Linked DNA regions of Homo sapiens: regions 2, 3, 4 and 5 are each linked to region 1. Evidence: promoter capture Hi-C in 16 types of primary human blood cells and fetal thymus (Javierre and others, 2016). All regions are on one chromosome and are shown on one strand. The core of a region is centred on a gene start or on the middle of the fragment in contact, and the rest is flanking DNA. Distances in the headings are between cores, read along the strand shown. Region 1 holds the start of TBCK (TBC1 domain containing kinase). Region 2 holds the start of MIR367 (microRNA 367). Region 3 holds the start of FAM241A (family with sequence similarity 241 member A). Region 4 holds the start of AP1AR (adaptor related protein complex 1 associated regulatory protein). Region 5 overlaps TIFA (TRAF interacting protein with forkhead associated domain).

Region 1 (2,700 bases), core at 38-2,537:
ACCATTTTATTTTCAATCAGATGTCTTTATCATCACATAGCTGAAAATAAAATAACCAAATAAAACACAATGATCGAAAAAGATAAAACACTAATTAGCATAATCAGTGTTCTTTTTCCACTACCTCTTAAATGGTTGTACATAAAAAGGCTCACACACAAAAATACACACACATACATTCACTTACACCTCGTGAGTGGAAGAAAACTACCGGGGGAAAAAAAACGTAGAGATGAGAGATTAGATGAGGGAAACAGCAGTGCAAGCAGTTGGGCTTGAAAATTCATTCATTCAACAAATATTTTGAAGCCCCTATTTTAAGTCAGTTGTTTTTCCAGCTGGTGGGCAAAGGATAATGAACAAGTCAGACTCTGTGCCCTCAAAGAACTTAGAGTTTTAAACGACTCGAATGGGGAAAGAAAGTAAAAAATAGGGCAAAAGACGCCGATTTTATCATGAATAAAATTTCACATTTCTTCAACAGGAAAATGATACTAATTCATTTATTTTATATATACATTCTCTCAAGAGGTTATTTTTGTCTCAAATAGATAGAAACCAGGACAGGGATCCTTGAAAAGCAGCCACTGACAATCCTCAAGTAACTTCCTTCCTCTGCTTCACTTTCTCCTACTGCTCAAGGGGGTGTTACACTTTGACGACTGACTAAACCTCGAGGGCCAGAAACAAACCAAAGCAAAATTCTGCCTCCAAGGTGAGTAATGGAGGGGCGGATTCTAGATTCTCTAACCTCCTTTAGCCTTCCTTTGAGGCAGTGACAGAGCGATTACTAAGCCTACGGTTCCCAAACGACTCAGGTGAACCTGATTTACAGGAAAGGCGGGCTGTAGCTAGGGATGGAGACAGTACCTATCAGCAAGCGGCTCCACAGCTCGGTTCTCTATCTATTCTGAAGACATGCGGGGCCACTCACTGCTCCTGATAGTCCTCTACCTCCCACAGACCCCACCCACTACGACACGGAAAACTGGATTACCCAAATACCTGCCTCTGAGTCTGGGGACGCAGGCAAGCACAAAGACAAGGGGGATGGAGCTTCTACACAGGGCCCCAGCGCTGTCGCTGTGGCTGCTGCTGCCGCTACGGCTTAGTGCACCAGACGCTGCATTTCAGGTGCTCCTACAAAAGAGGCCACTCCTGGAACGCCGGGAGCTCAGACGCTGCCCTTTGCTCGCGAGCCAAGTCAGCCAAGGTTAACCTTCGCGGAACCCGGCGAGGAGCGCAAGCCTGGCCTTCCCCAAACACAGATCCGAGCTTTTCACCCTCTACCCTCCCCTCAGCCTGGCCTTTTCTTCCGCCCTCACAGCCACCGCGACCCAACGCTGAGGAAAGACCCCGACTTGTGGTGTCCTTCCCCTTGCCCAAACTGGCCACGAAAGGACATATAGCGAGAGAGAAAGAGGTGCGGGGGGACGGGGGGGGTCGATTGAAAATACTGGGTGAGGGAATGGAAGACGAGGAGCGTGGTATGGCAGGTTAATGGGACTGAGCACAGGAAGAGGAAGAAAGAATTGAGGGTTGAATCTGTAGAACACTCAGGCTTTCAGCAAGGACACCTCATTGGGTCCTTTCTCACTGCTATAGTACGCGGGTGGCTGGACCTACATGCTTCCTGCTGTGGCTGTCTCGGAACCCGTGGTCCTCCGCTTCATGTGAGTGACGTCGTGGCGGGTCACTCACTCGGGGATCGCCGATTGCGATCGTAGGGGTCTTCCTTCTCTAACTTGCCTCCAGGAGAGAGGACCTGGCCTGCGCTGCTAATGGGTAGTCCGTTCGCAGCAGGACCAGCCCTGGCCTAAGGAAACAGGAAAGAGTTTGAGACTTCCTTCTAAAGGAGCCACGTTTGAGAAATGGGATGCAGGCCTAAGTTAAGAATGCTACAGAAAAATATCGATCCCTAAGCGTATTTACTGTTATGTGAATGTGTGTGTCAAAGGACTTAGGTGCTTTGGGGGAGAGGAGGGTGAAGACAGGAATTTATTCATTGAGCGAATAGTTATTAAGCGCCCACTCTATTCCAGACACCGTTCTAGGCATTAGGTGAACAGCAGTGAACAAAACAGACGGAAATCTGTGTCTACTTGTAGCTCACATTTTAGAGAGGAAGGCACATACTAAGCAAAGTAATTAGAAACATACTGTATTTTAGGTCGTGATAGTCCTGAAGAGAAACGTAAAGCAGGGAAGAAGGGTATAAAGTGACACAGGAAGGTCTTGCTGAAAAGATGACTTTTAAGTAAAGGGCTGACAGAAGTGGGAGATTTAACCACGCGAATATCTTGGGAAAGTGCAGTCAGACAGAGGGACCAGCCATTGCAGAGGTCATGAAGCAGAAACGTGCTAGAATAGCAAGGAGGCCTGTAGGGCAGAGTTGAGTGAAGGGTTTAGTCCTTCACTGGAGATTAAATCAAGGCGAGCAGGTCATGAAGATCTTGAGGACATCTAACTTTTATTCTAAATGAAATAGGACTTTGGAGCGTTTTGAGCAGTAGAGTGATGGGCTCTGACTTCCTTTTAAGAGGGTCACTCTTTAAGGAAAATACACAGAGGAGGACGTGGTAGGAGAAAGGAGACCAATAAGAAGAGTTTTGCAATAATCCAGAGGAAGCATAATGGTGGTTTGACTATGGGTGGTAAGAAATGGCCAGTTATATTCTTGATGCACTTAATTTGGATATG
Region 2 (2,700 bases), core at 165-2,664, 6.3 Mb after region 1:
TTTCTGGCATTTTTAAGAGATATGGGGTCCCACCATGTTGCCCAGGCTGGTCTTGAGCTCCTGAGCTCAAGAGATTTACCTTCACCCCTGAATTGCTGAGATAAGAAGCATTGAGCCACCATCCCCAGTTGCTAAATTTCAAATAGCCAACCTTGTGCTTGTTTCTAATAGGATGGGATCCAGATGTCCTCTTTGAATGTCTGGGTATTGCTAATAATTTGTGTTCAAATCTTAATCTGCAGTTACATACACTAAAATGTGTCATTTTAGGTCGCCAAATATGCAATGCCATTTAGACCCTCATACAGTTTTTTTTTGTTTGTTTTGTTTGAGTCTCTTTCTCCCAGGCTGGAGTGATCTCAGCTCACTGCAACCTCTGCCTCCTGGGTTCAAGCGATTCTCCTACCTCACTCTCGAGTAGCTGGGATTACAGGCGTGCACCACTACACCCAGCTAATTCTTTGTATTTTTAGTAGAGATGGGGTTTCACTATGTTGGCCAGGCTGGTCTTGAACTCCCCCATCCACCCGCCTTGGCCTCCCAAAGTACTAGGATTACAGGCATGAGCCACCGAGCCTGAGGGCCTGAGGGGCAGGTTAAATTGTACCAAATTGAATTAATCCTGCTGATACACTAACATATTAACTTTTTCATTTTCTTTAGATGTTGATATATCACTACTTGTGTCTTTTAACAAAATGAAAAAATTGACTACTGATGGGAAGTTAATTGCCAGAGCATTGAGAAGTTCAGCTGTTGTAGAGGTAAGAATCAAGAATAACTACTGTTTATATTTATAGTTTATAATTATAAAGAATGTTAACGTAATGATTATTATATGATTATAGCTTACAATTATAAATAATATTAGTTTTATTAATGTAATATACTATTTTAAAGCTTGATTTGGAAGGCACCAGAATCCGGAGGAAAAAACCTCTGGGGGAAAGACCAAAGGATGAGGATGAACGCACAGTGTATGTGGTAAGCTTAAGAACCCGGGTCCCCAGTCAGAAACTGGCACAGAAACAATATAATTAAGTTAAAAATTTATTGACATTCTGATTGTGAAAAACTCTAATATTGCTTTTAATTTATAATAGGAGTTACTTCCCAAAAATGTTAATCACAGCTGGATTGAAAGAGTATTTGGGAAATGTGGCAATGTTGTTTATATAAGTATACCACATTATAAGTCTACTGGAGATCCAAAGGGATTTGCGTTTGTGGAATTTGAAACAAAAGAACAAGCAGCAAAAGCAATTGAGGTAAGTCCAGATCCTAAAAAAAAAAAAAGAAAGAAAAGAAAACAAGTATTAAAATAGTAACTTTTGCAATCATTTCAGTTTCTTAACAACCCACCAGAAGAAGCACCAAGAAAACCTGGCATATTTCCTAAAACAGTGAAAAATAAGCCCATTCCAGCCTTAAGAGTTGTGGGTGAGTATTTTTCAATATTTAAATAGGTGTAGTTGAAGTAAGATGAACTAATAATGATGGCACTTTTACAGAAGAGAAGAAAAAGAAAAAGAAGAAGAAAGGCCGAATGAAAAAGGAAGACAATATCCAAGCCAAAGAAGAAAACATGGACACAAGCAACACCAGCATCAGTAAAATGAAAAGATCCAGACCCACATCTGAGGGCTCTGACATTGAGTCCACTGAACCCCAAAAGCAGTGCTCAAAGAAAAAGAAAAAACGGGACAGAGTTGAAGCATCTAGCTTACCTGAAGTCAGAACAGGGAAGAGGAAGAGAAGCAGCTCTGAAGATGCAGAATCCCTAGCTCCCCGATCAAAAGTAAAGAAAATTATTCAGAAAGACATCATTAAGGAAGCATCAGAAGCTTCCAAGGAAAATAGAGGTAAAACTACAAGGTTTTAATTAGATAAAACTAATTAATTTTAATTAATTAGTTTTTAATTAATTAGGTTTTAATTGGCTTCTGTTTCACCCATTTCACAGCCCCATGTCTTAACGGAGAGCTTTTTTATTTATTTCAAGATATAGAAATCTCTACTGAAGAGGAAAAGGATACTGGAGATCTAAAAGATAGCTCTCTCTTGAAAACAAAAAGGAAACATAAGAAAAAACATAAAGAGAGACATAAAATGGGAGAAGAAGTTATACCATTAAGAGTGCTATCAAAGTAAGTCTGTGGTTTAAATTCTGTCATTGGCTTAACAATCCATCACCATTGCTAAAGTGCAATTCCAATTTATATTCAACAGAGTTGCATATTAGCAACAGTAATGGCCTGTAGCCAAGAACTGCACACAGTGTGGGCGTTAACGCAATTGCTGATTAGGTAGGAACCACCACACTCAAACATGGAAGCACTTATTTTTGTCATGTCACAGCAAGTGCCTCCATGTTAAAGTAGAGGGGGCCCCTTAACAGATGTAAAAATACAAAATAAAGCTTAAATATATGAGCTGCGGTCAATACAATAAAGTTATTTTCTAAAAAAATAATAAAAATGTAAAAGGAAGACTTACCATCACCAAAACATGGAAGCACTTACTTCTTTAGTTTCAAAGCAAGTACATCCACGTTTAAGTGGTGGGGAGCCCAGTCTTGGAAAAAGTTAGAATCCTTTAACCTGTAACAAGCTTAGTAACCTTAAAACACAATAACAAAAAAATTTTGTAACAAAAGGTGTGCTGGCTTGGAGACACCTCCACTGAAACATGGAAGCACTT
Region 3 (2,700 bases), core at 95-2,594, 5.8 Mb after region 1:
CGGCTCCGCCCCGACGGCCGGGGGTTGGGCGAGCCAGTGACAGGAGGGGCCGGGCTGGTACTTCAGGCGCCCAGGCCGGCGGGGCGCGCTCCGGCGGCTCCTGTCAGCGGCGGGTGCGGCGGATCCCAGGGCAGCCTTCGGGCGGCGGCGCTGCCTGGTGCGTCGCGGCGTGGTCCTCCGGCGGCTGTCCGGGGCGGTAGGAGTTGGCTGCGGGATGTGCTCAGCCGGGGAGCTGCTGCGGGGCGGCGACGGCGGGGAACGCGACGAGGACGGGGACGCGCTGGCGGAGCGGGAGGCGGCAGGGACCGGGTGGGATCCCGGGGCGAGCCCGCGGCGGCGCGGACAGCGGCCGAAGGAGAGCGAGCAGGTGAGCGCGGGGAGGGGCGGCGGCGAAGCGGCCGGGTCGGGGGCCGCGAGCCCCGCCCGGCGTTGGAGGGAAGGGGCCCGGCCCGCGGGCCGCGCCGCAGCTCTGCCCCGCGTGGGCACTGGCTCCCCGGCGCTCTGGGAAGTCGTCGCCGGGAGCGGTTAGACGGCGCTCCCAGGAGGAGCGGCGGGGTCGCGCGAGTGCAGACGCCAGCGCCGGCCCCGGGGTCGCGTGTCTGGCGGGGTCAGCGTGGTTCGTCCCCTGGCGTCCGGCAGAGGATTCTCAGGCTGGCGCCCAGGGCTCGGAGGAAATGCCCTCCATAGCGGTGATTTATTTAAAAGCCTCACTTGTAAACACTTCTTTTTCAACTTCGAGTCCGTGCCCTGCGCCAGGTTTAGGAGACGCCGGCTCCCCTCCCGCCCTCCATCTTGCGTTTCCGAGCCCACACCTAGCGTGTCTGGAAGGTGTGGGTGGATTCCGTCCACGGGCAGCGCTGAAAGCATGAGTAGGAGCGGGTGTTACAATGAATGTCTTGACAGGGACTCTCCCAGAGCACGTTCTTCATAAATACAGATGAGATCAAAGCTTCAGTTAAAAAGTGGAGAGGCAAGAATATTGCTTTCGGTTATAAGAGGCCAGCCATAGTAAGGGAAAAGAGAAGTTGCGTAATTTTTTAAACTCTCTGAGTTTATCTCATTTAAATAAAGTGTGATAATGGGCATTATAACATCAAATATCTTAAAGATTAGGCAAAAGGTTTAATTTTAAAAATTGAATTGTATGTTGGATGAATTTTCTACAGCAAATACAGTATTTAGACTTTCCAAATACCTGAGGTAAGCCGCTCTTTAGACTCACATTAAGGAGCAGGAATTCAAATGATTATTGGCCTTTATTACAGCCTGTACTGTTAGGACAATTAATACCTGTCTCTCCTCATCTTTCTTCATCTGTCCTTTCTGTCACGTTTCACAAATTCCAGTATCATCACTAAATGCATTAATAGATGTATACCTTACATTGTTTCAATAGGTTACTTAGGAAACAGAGTAATACTGTGTGGCACACAAAATATGCCTTAGCGTTAGGTTTGATCACCACGTGGAGTGTAATTTTTCATCTGTGACAATATAAGAGAAAGTGACTCAAGCAAATAATTTGGTAGCTTGTTCTTCGGATTCCCTTCCTAGTGGTTTTTCCCGTTAACTATTCATTTGCTCAAGGGCTTGATTTCCTCTAACTTAAATTGCTTAACTGGAAAAGTGAAGAAGACAGCACAAGAATTCCTTTGGGGGTGGGGAGGGGTTGCATTTGAGCAGGGGTTTCCAAAGTAAATTTTCAAATAGTTGTAAGGGAGCATATAAAAATACTTCATTTAAGCTTCTGTGTACTTCATTAGTATGATTATGTAGACATCACTAATAGTTGTGGTCTTTCCAAAATTGCTTATGGTACAAAGTAAAAGGATAAAACAAAAAATGAAAAGTACATCTTAGAAAACATATCACTTTGCATACCTGCCTCCTTCATTGAATGTCATGAAAGTTCATTCTCCTGTACTCCTTTGAAGTGTTATTTTTATCATTCTGTTTTTGCCTCAAGATTTATTAATGTATTCTAAGCCCCCATACACAATAATTGAAAATCACACCGGAGATAGGCATTTCCTACTACATTAGCACCAAAGAAGAATTAGTCAAGAAGACAAAAATAAGCAAAAAATTGGTGCAACCCAACCCATTGTTGTAAAAAGCAAGCTTTTCTGATAAAACGTTTCTTGGTAATGTTATCACAAAGCCTTGTTTTCTAGTTTTTTTCAAGTTCTGTAAATGAAATTATGCATTGCCATGTAATGATGGTAGAAATAGTATTACATGTGTAAAGATATTTGAGGAAGAAATGAAATTAACAACTATGGAACATATCCCAAGGACTCATTTTATTTAGTTTTTATTTAGGGAGATGATTTTTGTTTGTCCTGTTGGTTGGTTTAAGGATACAAGGACTCCAGATTACAAATGGAATATTTTTGAAAGATTGGTTTCTAAGTTAATGATTTAGAACTTAAGGTGAACTTTTCCATGAAAACAATGATATAAACAGGAACAGAACCAAAACTAATTAGCTGGAAATGAGACAGAGGCCATCTTCCTGCCGTCTTTTCTACTTGGCACGCTCACTTCGTGTTCCGGAGTCATGGATAGCCTCATGGGTATTGAGAGGAAATTAGAGGCAGGAGCTAGCAGAGGCGCTCCTTTTAACCCAGAAAAGAGCTATGGTTGTATGCTCTTGAACACCATAGCTCCAGAGGCACCTGACTTGTGCTCCTCTAGCTC
Region 4 (2,700 bases), core at 44-2,543, 5.9 Mb after region 1:
TACTGTGTTCCTATTTGTTACTAAATATTCCATAGGATAGATGTACCAGTTTCTGTAAACATTTATAGTTGAATTTTAATGATTATTTCATTAATACATTTGTCTAATTTCAGGGGTTGGAAGGAGAAAAGAAAATGCTTTCACTAGGAAGTCATTCGGTCATCCCAACATTCACTGAAAGCAAACCATTGGGACAAATGTTATCCTATGCTTCTGATTACAAAACAACTAAAACCCAAATAAAATAAACATTAGTAAGTAGCAGTGCTAAGATTGAAACCAGATACGTATTTAAAGAAGCAAGAAAATGAGTTCAGAGAACATTTTATCATCAATAAAAACTTTCTAAAATGTAACAATTTTTCTAGGTTTAATTAAACAGGCTAAAAACTTGATGTGTCCAGTCCATGAGAGCATCCTCCTATCCACTGGACGAGGTGTCTACTAAACCACATCTTATATCTATTGTGAGGCCAACTGTCTTGAGGCCAAACAAGACGCGAATTATATGGTAGCACTTGAGAGGGCTGCGGACACATTAGAGCAGCTTTCTCTTCCCATCTACAGCAGTTCTGGGCAGCATGCTTGGAATGGCAACGCTGACGTCCCCGAAAAACCCCAGCCCTCTTGCCAATTTCCTCTGAACCCCAACTACCCAACCCAAAATTATGTGAAGATCTGATTTTCAAACAAAACGAGGACAATAATGCACCATTATTACGTTTCCCTAAAACATTAACAGTATGGAAATTAAGACACAAACCAGAGACCGGAAAAAAATCTTGGTGCGTTCAAAGTAACCTCAATCAGTTCCCGAGTCTATTTTCCGCTTATGGTGCAGTATTAACAAAAACTAAGCACACCGTGCAGAGAAACGCCCCTTCGCACTTATGACTTCCGGCCTGGGACTCTGGCTCCTCACACGCCTTTGATACAAAGTTCGAAGGCTGAGCCTTAGCCATGCCACGCCCAGCGTGCTCCGGACGAGGATGCCCGAAACTGCAATGAGAGAGGGAAATTTCCTAGTCAGGTCAAGGTCCAACAAAACAAACGTCCGCACGCAGGAATTGAACCGTCTCGCAGGCAGAGGCGGCTGAACCAGGAGCGAGCGGAAGTGACGCACAGGCCGGTCGCCAGAGAAGGCGGGGCACCGAGGTAGCGCGCCCAATTGGGGCGCGGGAGAGGCCGGGGGTGTGGCAGCGTTGGCGGCGAGCAGGGGCCTGGGCGCGCTGGGGGCGGGGCCAGGGTGCTCGGCTCGCGGGGACTGGCCTCCTTCGGCAGCTGGAGGCGGTCACTCACGCTGGGCTAGGAGCTGAGGCGAGAAGGGCCATGCGGACGGCGAGGGAGTCCAGAGCCTTGAGCCCGGTGCTCCTCCCTCGCGCAGCGGTGGCTCTGCGGCCGCTGGAGTAAACACTGCCTTTGTTCCCTAGCGCCTCGTCTTTCGTCGCCCCGTGCCCTCACGCCGCCGGGCTCTGGCCGGCCCGCCCTCGGTCCTTGAACCCCATTTCGGCTCGTGCCGTGCGGATGCAGCTGCCGGGCCTGGGTTTGGGCATTGAGCGGGAGGAGGAGGAGGAGCGGCGGCGCCTGGGCGGCATGCGATGGGGAACTGCTGCTGGACGCAGTGCTTCGGACTGCTTCGCAAGGAAGCGGGGCGGCTGCAGCGAGTAGGCGGCGGCGGAGGGTAAGCCCGCTGGGGGAGGGGCCCGGCCCCCGTGGCTCCTCCTCTTCGGCCCCCGGCGGGGAATCCCTTTCACCGTCCCCCGGCGGCTGGAGGTGGCGGTCGAGAGCCCTGCTACACTCACTGCTTAGCAGACGTCAGACTGGTGGTCGTCTTGGAGGCCCAGTCTGGGGTCCGGTCTTGGGGCCTCCTCGGAAAGAGGTAGAAGAGGGGGCGGGGTGTCCCTCCTGCCAGGGCGCCCTGTCACGCGGGGAAGGAGTCACGGGAGACATCATCTCCAGGAAACAAGGGGTAGCTTCGCGCTAATGGGCTGTAGGACCGGCTCCACGGCAACCTGGACACACCCTGCGCTGAGCTTAGGTTTAACGCCAAAGCTAGTATCCCTGTATCTGACCCTCTCTTTAGCCCTGGCAGAGCAGGTGGGATCTGGCTCCGGAGTTAATGCCTCAGATTGATTTTAAGTAGAAGTCATTTGGATGCTGGAGTAAAATAAGGTTCCAGATACTGATGAACTCTGGTAGCTACAAAGACTTGCTGAATTGCAGAGTTCCCAATGGGCATTCAGATTCTTGGTGCTCATAACTACAGGGACAATGTGTAATTTTTTCGTATTAAGTTTTTGAAATTTCGAGAGGAATTCCTTGCCCTGATTGCTACTCAAACGTCCTGTAACATTAGGTAAATTGCAGTCCTTCTGAACTTCACTTCTCTTGAGTAAACCTGGGATATTGCTTAGGTTTTGTATATGCACCATCCACAGAATAGTAATTTCATAATTCCGTTTTTGTGTTTTTTTATTTCATATATATTGAAAAAATTAGAGCAAATTCCTTTGGGGTTGGCTTTGTTGTTATTAAATGTCCCTCCGGAATTCAAACCTAGAATTGAAAATCTGAACCAAGCCAGTTTGTGTAAGGACTAAGACTGTTTTGCACTTTCTGAAACAGATTGCTAATTTTTCATAATCTGTTCCATTTAACTAACATTATTGGGTAATAAGATGTTCAACATAAATAAATTGC
Region 5 (2,700 bases), core at 78-2,577, 6.0 Mb after region 1:
CAGGCCTGTCCCTACCAGTTCTGCCCCTTTAAAATGATGATCCACTTCATTAACAACCATGTCAATGAAACATGAATGGCAGTGACTTACTTCCAAGCAGAAACTTAAAAGCCACTGTGTAGTTCCACCTTCCCTCTTTCTTTTGTCAAAACATCAGCAGTTCCCACAAGGAGCAGCTCAGTCTGGGTCCCAGAGGGAAGAGCCGAAGACAGATACATAAAGGACAGTTAATATTAGCAAAAAAACCAACCCTTCTTCCAATAAGCCACTGAGATTTTTTAGGTCATTTGTTACTGCACTATATCAGAGCCTGAGCTGATGGATGCATTCACCTATCTTATGAAGGTATAAAACCACAGCAAACTCTGACAGTGATATGGTTTGGCTGTGTCCCCACCCCAATCTCATCTTGAATTATAGCTCCCACGAGTCCCACATGTTGTGGAAGGGACCTGATAGGAGGTAATTGAATCATGGGGATAGGTCTTTCCCATGCTGTTCTTGTGATAGTGAATAAGTATCACAAGATCTGATGGTTTTATAAGGGGGAGTTTCCATGCACAGGCTCTCTCTTTGCCTGCTGCCATCCATGTAAGATGTGACTTGCTCCTCCTTGCCTTCTGCCATGATTGTGAGGCTTCCCCAGCCATGTGGAACTGTGAGTCCATTAAATCTCTTTCCTGTATAAATTACCCGGTCTCAGGTATGTCTTTATTAGCAGTGTGAGAACAAACTAATACAGACAGGAATAAGGGCTATTACTTATTTCATGCCTTTCATGTGCCAGGCAGACTGCTGATACCCTGATACACTGTAACCAAGTACCTCCACTTTTCTAAGTCATAGTTTAATTTTTTTAATTATTTTCTCTTTTCCCTGTGCCCCACTTCCTACTTAGACCTTCAGAAATGCAAATGTAACCATTCACCTTTCCTGACCAGAAATTCCCTACAGGGCAAGTATATCTAACTATGTGCTCCAAGACAACCTTAACTTTGATCTCTCCTGGAGAGTTGACAGTCGATTTGCAGACCAAAGCATGTCCCCACAGAACTCTCACCTCCAGGGGGTGGCCTCTGAACTCACACCTACTAGGAGGGCATGGTGAGAGTATGCCCACTTGGCCACTTATATAACTTATATTTCTGCCCAGGAAGGTGTCAACTCAACTGTCTGGTAGATAAAGCACCAGGGAAGCGGGGGACCCCCTGCTCTGGCTCACTTCCCACCCTACTTTATAAAAGAGGCCCACTTTCTGCTCCAAAAGTGAAGCAGCACATTCTGGGTGTGGATAAAGGCAGGACGTTTTGTGCCCCCTTCTCCAAGCTAGCTTAGGAATTCACTTTTTTTTTGTACCAGACCTCACTCTTGTTAATTGGACTCTGCATGCAGCGGGCAACTAACCTACTTTTTGGTGACAACAGGTCATCTAATCTTCAAAATAACCCTGTGAATCACTGCTTCACTGATAAGGGAGCTGAATCTCAGAGGGTTTAAAAACCAGCCCAGATCATAAATCCAATGTCAGAGACAGGACTCAAACTCCAATGCATCCTCTCTTAACCATTACAAACACTGCCTCCCTGGTTACCAGCTACTTCACAAACTTTAGCAGTTAACCTGTAGAGAAGGGGGACATAAATGTGTGTGGGCTACAACCAGCAAGGCACCAAACAAGAATCTAATACTGGGGAGGGAAATACACCATTAGTGCTACCTCATAGGAGGAACAGGCTCTGAAGCACCAGGTTACGGTGAATATCAGTAACCTGGGTATCAGTAAGCCTGGGTGTATAAATGTTAGCATGGACCTAGTACTCATCGGTAATTGTGGCAGGTTGTTTGGAGACCATGTTGATCTCTGACCTCAAGGAACTTAGAAATGAATCTATTTGTTTATCCTCAAAGCCACAGAGTCCCTCTACAAAGTGACCTGAACACTCTGACATTTCAGAGTGGTCAGCAGAAAAACAGGAAAGACAGAAGCTGACAATTAAAATAATATAGTTAAAATTGTTAGATTTTAAAAAATCATTGGTGCACATTTGCTCAAAACAGCATTTTGAAATCTGTTAGTCGTAAGTTATCAAAGAAACAGGGCAACAATGATTTTATATAGTGATAACAATGGTTACCTCTGGAGACAGAAACTGGGGGCCCAGGATAGGAAGGAGACTTACTCTCCACTGCACACACACTCTACACCTTTGGAATTTTATACCATGTGCACTTCAATATCTATTCAAACACTTAACAAATATTTTCCTTACAAAATCACCAACCTCTGATTTTTATGGAATTGACAGTGGTTGGAGATTAGCAAAGTATTATTAAAGGGGTAAACTGTGATATCTGACATGGAAAAGTTGTAAAACACTGATTAATATCTGACAAACAATAATATCTGTGTTAACAAAGGAAATACAATAAATATAGAAATAAAAATAAGCACTGCAGTTGGGAACTCTGTCTCTGAAAGCTGAATACAGAAGGCATAGATGCTGCATCTTGAGTGTCCAGCTCTTCTGTGCTGGACATCAGGATGTATACACTTAACCTGGGAGGCTTAGAGTTGGGAAGAGAAGAGTTAGATCGAGGGCAAGGCTTCTGACTCCTCTCTGGGGAAAGAAGAATGGATACGTGTAGAGGTGCTATGTGCAAAAACAGCACCTCCACCTCTGCTACCCTCCCTGCAACACA

The links. The method cuts DNA at HindIII sites, captures the fragments that hold promoters and counts their contacts. A CHiCAGO score of 5 or more calls a contact.
Region 2: a contact is called between a fragment that was not itself captured here and the fragment with the promoter of TBCK in region 1, in 2 of 17 cell types (naive CD4 T cells and non-activated CD4 T cells). The highest score is 6.3, in naive CD4 T cells.
Region 3: a contact is called between a fragment that was not itself captured here and the fragment with the promoter of TBCK in region 1, in 1 of 17 cell types (naive CD4 T cells). The highest score is 5.7, in naive CD4 T cells.
Region 4: a contact is called between the fragment with the promoter of AP1AR here and the fragment with the promoter of TBCK in region 1, in 2 of 17 cell types (total CD4 T cells and activated CD4 T cells). The highest score is 7.0, in total CD4 T cells.
Region 5: a fragment that was not itself captured here is called in contact with the fragment with the promoter of TBCK in region 1 in 2 of 17 cell types (total CD4 T cells and naive CD8 T cells); the score reaches 7.1 in total CD4 T cells.

What each region holds. Positions count from the first base shown.
Region 1 is chr4:106,314,922-106,317,621 of GRCh38, forward strand. It overlaps TBCK (TBC1 domain containing kinase), which reads right to left and starts at 1,288. Exons shown (of 26, transcript NM_001163435.3): 1 at 1,010-1,288. AIMP1 (aminoacyl tRNA synthetase complex interacting multifunctional protein 1) reads left to right here and starts at 1,629. Exons shown (of 7, transcript NM_001142416.2): 1 at 1,629-1,673. RefSeq lists enhancers at 868-957, 1,038-1,097, 1,588-1,837. The HindIII fragment of the contact is 5,300 bases long and covers 1-2,700 here.
Region 2 is chr4:112,645,688-112,648,387 of GRCh38, forward strand. It overlaps LARP7 (La ribonucleoprotein 7, transcriptional regulator), which reads left to right. Exons shown (of 13, transcript NM_016648.4): 3 at 664-764; 4 at 901-984; 5 at 1,104-1,268; 6 at 1,347-1,440; 7 at 1,512-1,862; 8 at 2,003-2,147. MIR302CHG (miR-302/367 cluster host gene) reads right to left here. Exons shown (of 3, transcript NR_146092.1): 3 at 1,033-1,281. MIR367 (microRNA 367) reads right to left here and starts at 2,254; the gene lies at 2,187-2,254. It overlaps MIR302D (microRNA 302d), which reads right to left and starts at 2,384; the gene lies at 2,317-2,384. It also overlaps MIR302A and MIR302C. The HindIII fragment of the contact is 855 bases long and covers 988-1,842 here.
Region 3 is chr4:112,145,367-112,148,066 of GRCh38, forward strand. It overlaps FAM241A (family with sequence similarity 241 member A), which reads left to right and starts at 88. Exons shown (of 2, transcript NM_152400.3): 1 at 88-367. The coding sequence starts at 215. RefSeq lists a silencer at 1-518 and an enhancer at 859-998. The HindIII fragment of the contact is 795 bases long and covers 948-1,742 here.
Region 4 is chr4:112,230,494-112,233,193 of GRCh38, forward strand. It overlaps AP1AR (adaptor related protein complex 1 associated regulatory protein), which reads left to right and starts at 1,294. Exons shown (of 10, transcript NM_018569.6): 1 at 1,294-1,681. The coding sequence starts at 1,599. AP1AR-DT (AP1AR divergent transcript) reads right to left here and starts at 1,657. Exons shown (of 1, transcript NR_186684.1): 1 at 1-1,657. RefSeq lists enhancers at 1,067-2,014, 2,039-2,088 and silencers at 1,119-1,398, 1,559-1,828. The HindIII fragment of the contact is 11,290 bases long and covers 1-2,700 here.
Region 5 is chr4:112,281,591-112,284,290 of GRCh38, forward strand. The region is part of intron 1 of TIFA (TRAF interacting protein with forkhead associated domain); the gene reads right to left. Among named protein-coding and RNA genes, the nearest start is that of TIFA, 3.0 kb to the right of the region's middle. The HindIII fragment of the contact is 3,101 bases long and covers 1-2,700 here.